Linked DNA regions of Homo sapiens: region 1 is linked to region 2. The links are contacts of gene promoters, found by promoter capture Hi-C in blood cells and fetal thymus (Javierre and others, 2016). All regions are on one chromosome and are shown on one strand. Each heading gives the region's core, a stretch centred on a gene start or on the middle of the fragment in contact. The rest is flanking DNA. Distances are from core to core; before and after follow the strand shown.

Region 1 (2,721 bases), core at 94-2,593, 1.1 Mb after region 2:
TAGTCATTAGCTTAGGACTTAGCCAAGAACAAACAATAACAATAATAAACCAAAACCAAAACCAACCAACCAACCAACCAAACAAATAAACCAAAACCCCCCAGAACAACAAGAAACCCACATACCATGTTATTGTATAACACTTGATATCATTAACAGGTCGATTTTCTATAGGTTAAATATTTCAATATAATATTTTTGGATGTAGGGAGTTAATGCCAAGGCTCTTATGGGAAGATACATAAGCAAGCAGAGGCAGGAAAGTTCTAGAAAAAAGGAATAATAGGGGAAGGGGACTATCTGTGCCAGATATTAGTCACATATTAAGCTATAATAATAAACAATGAGTTTCTGATGTGGAGCGAAAGCTCAATGGAACAGTCTATAAAGTTCAAGAACATTCAAATACATATTAGAATTTAGTATACGTGCTAAAAGTATGACAAAAGTGCAAAAAGACTAAAAGAAAATAAATACAGTTCATCCTCGGTATCTGGGGAATTGGGTCCAGGACCCCCACAGATACCAAAATCTTCAGATGTTAAAGTCCCTGATATAAAATGGTATAGTGTGTACATATAACTGTATACTTTAAATCATCTCTGGGTTACTTATGATAGCTAATACAATGTAAATGCTATGTAAATAGTGGTTATACTGTATAGTTTTTTTATTTGTATTTTTTTTATTGCTGCGTTGTTATTTTTAATTGTTTCTTTTCCAAATATTTTCCATCTGTAGTTGGTTGAATCTGCAGATGTGGACCCATAGTGGGATGACTGTATGTAAAAGAAAAAACCTTCCACATGGCGGAAAACAAACAAAACAGCAAAATACCCCAAATACCTGAGTCAAAGGGGAAAGAAATGCTTCAACTTGGACTGCACAGGGTTCTAATGCTCTTGATGTATAGAGTTCTTACAAATTAGTAAGGAAAGAACCCAGTAGAAACATGGGCAAAGAGGGTGAAGTGAGAGTTGAAAGACAAGCAGAATCAATGCCTCTAAAGCCTAGCAAAAGATGCTCAACCTCATAATATAAGAAATACAACTCAGCCAGGCGCGGTGGCTCACACCTGTAATCCCAGCACTTTGGGAGGCCCACGCAGGTGGATCATGAAGTTAGGAGATCGAGACCATCCTGGCTAACACAGTGAAACCCGGTCTGTACTAAAAACACAAAAAAATTAGACAGGTGTGGTGGCATGCACCCGTAGTCCCAGCTACTCGGGAGGGTGAGGCAGGAGAATCGCTTGAACACCAGGGAGGCAGAGGTTGCAGTGAGCGGAGATCGTGCCACTGCACCCCAGCCTGGGTGACAGAGTGAGACTCCATCTCAAAAAAAAGAAAAAAAAAAAAAAGAAATACAACTCAAAACTTCAATGAGATTTTTTTCATTTATCAGATTAACAAAGATTAAACAGGTGATAAAATATCATAGGCATAAGGAGAGACAGTCACATTCACACATGGTCAACTTAAGTGAGAACTGGCATCAATATCTGTGCAGGACAATTGGACAATTCCTACCCATAATAAAAATGCACATGCCCTTTGACCTAGCAATCCCACTTTAGGACTATATCTTGCAGATATAATTTCACAAGAATGTGCAACATTGCTCATAATAGGAGAAGTCTGAGAACAACTTAAATGCCCATCAGTGGGTGGCAGGTTAAACAGATTATGGTAAATCCACATGGGGATACTACACAGCCATGAAAAAGAACAAGACTGTTCTAAATGTACTGATATAGACAGGACTCCAAGACATGGTGCTAAGTGAAAAGATAGTAATATTGTAATAATATTGGTAATAAGTGAAAAGTGAATAATAAGTAATAAGTGATAGTAATAAGTGAAAAGAAAGTAATATTGTGCTATCACATGCAAAAAAATAGAAGCGATGTACATGCCTATACTATATATGCATAAAATTTCTTTAAAAAGCTGTCTGGGGTTTGGTGAACACATAACAGTCTCTAACACAAATTGTATAAAGCTGAAGCAAGGCGCTGGTTACAGATAATGATCTGAATATTTCAAAGGGGGAGTTTTAAAAGAACCGAAACCAGATGAAACTGATTATCTCTCATAATACCCAGATAGAAAGACTGGCCCAGGATCTTCAAGGAAGTTTGTTGCAATCAGGGCCCAGTAATTTCATTATCAGAGTGTCGCTGATTGCTGATCCCAGGAGGCCACCTGGGATGGCGTGATTACCCTGCAGGGGCTGATGAGGTTCCACCAAGAATGCAGCAGGTGCCCAGGCTTCCTGCTCTGGGGACTAATGCTTAATTGGTAGCTGGTTGGTTCAGGAGGTGGCGGGTTGGTTCCCAAGAAGCTGATGTCAAGGGTTTTATTCGTATGGGCTCTGCGTGGGTTCACATGGGCCCTTGGTCACATGGGATTCTGGGCAGGGGAGCTGTTTGGGGTGGATGGTTAGAACAGATCTTGGTGCTGTTACCTTCTCTGTGCCTCGATTTCCATCCCAGCTCTGCAGTCATCCACTTACTCAAGGAGGGTCAGTATTAGGTCTGTCTCCCTGCTCATTCTGCCTGCATGCAGTAAGCCAATCACTGTGACAATGGGCTTTGCAAAGAAGAAAGGGTTGATCCATGAGGCTACGAAGCAAGGAGGCAGGAGAACAGGTCTCAAATCTGCCTCCCCAAAAGTCAGGTTAGAGATATATATGGCATAAGGAAGCAAGGTGATCTGAGGT
Region 2 (2,700 bases), core at 95-2,594:
AGCACTTCCTCCGTGGGAGCTCCATATCTAAATATGTGCATATATAGTTTTCTACTTTACTGACGGTAGCTTTCATAAAGCCGCTTGAAGTACTTACTAAAAATCCATCTTAAGACTCTTTCTGCATTTTGGGAGGCCGAGGCGGGTGGATCACCTGAGGTCAGGAGTTTGAGACCAGCCTGGCCAACATGGTGAAACCCGGTCTCTACTAAAAAATACAAAAAATAGTCGGGCATGGTGGCGGGTGCCTGTAATCCCAGCTCCGTACTCCAGAGGCTGAGGCAGAAGAATCGCTTGAACCCAGGAAGCAGAGGTTGCAGTGAGCCAAGGTCGCGCCATTGCACTCCAGCCTGGGTAACAAGAGTGAAACTCTGTCTCAAAAAAAAAAAAAAAAATCTTCCCCACACATAATGTGGCAGGACAGGAAACACTAGGATTCCTCCAGTTTATGGGGAGATTGGGAGAGCTGAGGCTTCACAATGACACAGCCGGGTATGGAAAACACCAAAAGAAATATGCCTTTTTGGATGACAATACTCCACCCCAATTTCCAAGTATGCTACAACTTTTCCTCAGCCTCGATGGGAGGTATTTACAGTGAGTGGTAGAAGCTTTACTGCAATGCCCTGGTAGACACAGGCTCCACCAGGCTTGGCTTCTACACTCTCACTGGGTCTATGGATGAGCACAGAAGCCAGGTTTCTGGCTCACAGAGAACCTAAGTGCTGAGTTTATATATAAAGTGCACAGTGTGAATAATTAAATATGAAAACGTGTACACACCAAACAGGACATTTTTACTTAATGCCAAAGAAGCACAAACGACCCTTTCTTTTGGGAGTTTCACAAGCATTTCTGCTCAACAGTAATCCCCCAGTGACAGTGATAGTAGTGGTTTCAATATTTTGTTTATAAAAAGCAACATTATAAAATGCCCTGAAAGGTCTTGGCTTCTTTTGTGAGCTCTGAACTATTCAGAAATTCAGCTTGCTATCTGGGGACAACAAATAAATCCCTACTCTAAAAAAATGGGATTCGGGTTTTTCTCCTGTGCTGCTTCCTGGCCTTAACGCTTCCTGGGGACTTACCGTCATTTGCTCAGTTACGGTTTCTATGGGATGAGTGGGGAAGCCGCGTGGTGAGGAAGCCTGGCTCGCACCCGGCCTGCGCTCTCTCGGGCCTGGCCGCATCGGCCACCAGGGGGCAGTGTTGTCATTCGCTGGCGACGCCGCCCCGCCCCGAGCGGATGCCACCCCGTTTCCAGCCTCCGGTGCTCACCGTAAGCTCTGTTATTATTATCTTTTGATTTATAAAGCGCCGTTCCTCAGCAGATTCCCCGCCCCCCAGCTGCTTCCGAGAAAGCTCGCAGAAGCGTTCGTGCGCAGGCGCGGAAGCCCCGCACAGCACGCGGTGGGCCCGGTTCGGGGGGGCGCACGGCCTGGGGCGTCGGGAAGAGGCTGCGGGCAGCGGGGCCTGCGGGCGCGGCGTGGCGGGGCGGGAAAACGGCTCTGTCCCGTGGGGCGCAGGCAGGAACGTGTTCCCATAAAAGACACAGGGAAGACCAACCCTGGGCGTTAGCCATCCAAACCTTCCCTCCCGTGCGAAACCCGCTGCCCTGCGGCCAGGACTGTGAGGGAAGCGATGGGAGGAACCCGGGAGCCCGCGAAGGCCGGGCCCCAGAGTCCGGGCGCCCCTGAGCGGGGCGGAGGGGACAAATAGAACCTTTTTAAGGACAGCTGAAAGAGATTATAAGCGCGGTGTGCTGGGACTTTGGAAAGGGCGCGAGTCATTAGTGGGGGCGAATCAGAGGGGAGTATGTTGACGGGATAATAACAAAAATAAAGAGGCTTGATAAGAAAGACACGGCTTTTGGAGTCAAAGGGAAAATCCGGGACAATGAGGGTTGGCAGGTTCCTGGGACACAAACCAGGAAAAACAGGGCCACACCGGAGCGGCCTGCCTGGCTCCAGCACAGCCGGTGCAGAAGCTAATTTTGTTCCGAGTCCTCCTAGCTCAACAAACATGCCGCCATAGCACCTATTTTCTTTTAGGTAATGCTCACAACAACCTAGCAAAGTGGGGATCATCTTCACCACTGTACAGATGAAGAAATTGAAGGTCAGACATTCAAGGTTATGTGGCCACATGAGAGAAATACCAGAGCTGGGATGAAGACTCAACGGCTCTCAGACACCAGGTTGCTTCTTGAGAGAAGCCGGATGGATGTGCATGCAGGGAGGTGAGCCTCAAAGCAGGTCCAGCTTTCTCCCGTGAGTGTTCCAGTGGCTTAGGGTTAGGGTTAGGGTCCAGAGGAGGAGAGGCGTCCAGAGCTGGGGCCGTCTGCGTTTTGCCTTGCTGTCCCAGAGTGGCAGCGAGGAGTGGCCTGGCCTAGAGGGTCTTTGTCTTATCTTGTGACTTGCTGTTTCTCCTCTGTCTGCAGGAGCTGGGGGAGGTTGGAGAAGCCGCAGCCCAGAAGGGGAGGGAGGACACCATGTCAGAGCTTGCTGGAGCAAGCTTTGGAGGAAGGCCACAGGGGACATTGTCACCAAGGGCCACGGCAGCGTGCACCCTGGGTTAGAGAAAGGGGCAAATTATGGATATGAAAAATGCTTCCCTCAATGAAAAGGACCCTGCTGAGACAGGATGGCTGTGGGCCAAATACCCCTACAGTGCCTGATTCTTTTATCTTATTATTTATTT

Evidence for each region. The method cuts DNA at HindIII sites, captures the fragments that hold promoters and counts their contacts. A CHiCAGO score of 5 or more calls a contact.
Region 1: a fragment that was not itself captured here is called in contact with the fragment with the promoter of LINC02521 in region 2 in 5 of 17 cell types (activated CD4 T cells, total CD4 T cells, naive CD4 T cells and 2 more); the score reaches 9.1 in activated CD4 T cells.

The regions. Positions count from the first base shown.
Region 1 is chr6:1,530,043-1,532,763 of GRCh38, reverse strand. All of the region lies in intron 2 of LOC102723944 (a long non-coding RNA gene), which reads left to right. Among named protein-coding and RNA genes, the nearest start is that of FOXCUT, 74 kb to the left of the region's middle. The HindIII fragment of the contact is 2,893 bases long and covers 1-2,721 here.
Region 2 is chr6:2,633,144-2,635,843 of GRCh38, reverse strand. It overlaps LINC02521 (long intergenic non-protein coding RNA 2521), which reads right to left and starts at 1,344. Exons shown (of 3, transcript NR_149119.1): 1 at 1,089-1,344. It overlaps LINC01600 (long intergenic non-protein coding RNA 1600), which reads left to right and starts at 1,241. Exons shown (of 3, transcript NR_131168.1): 1 at 1,241-1,279; 2 at 2,052-2,239. The HindIII fragment of the contact is 1,903 bases long and covers 614-2,516 here.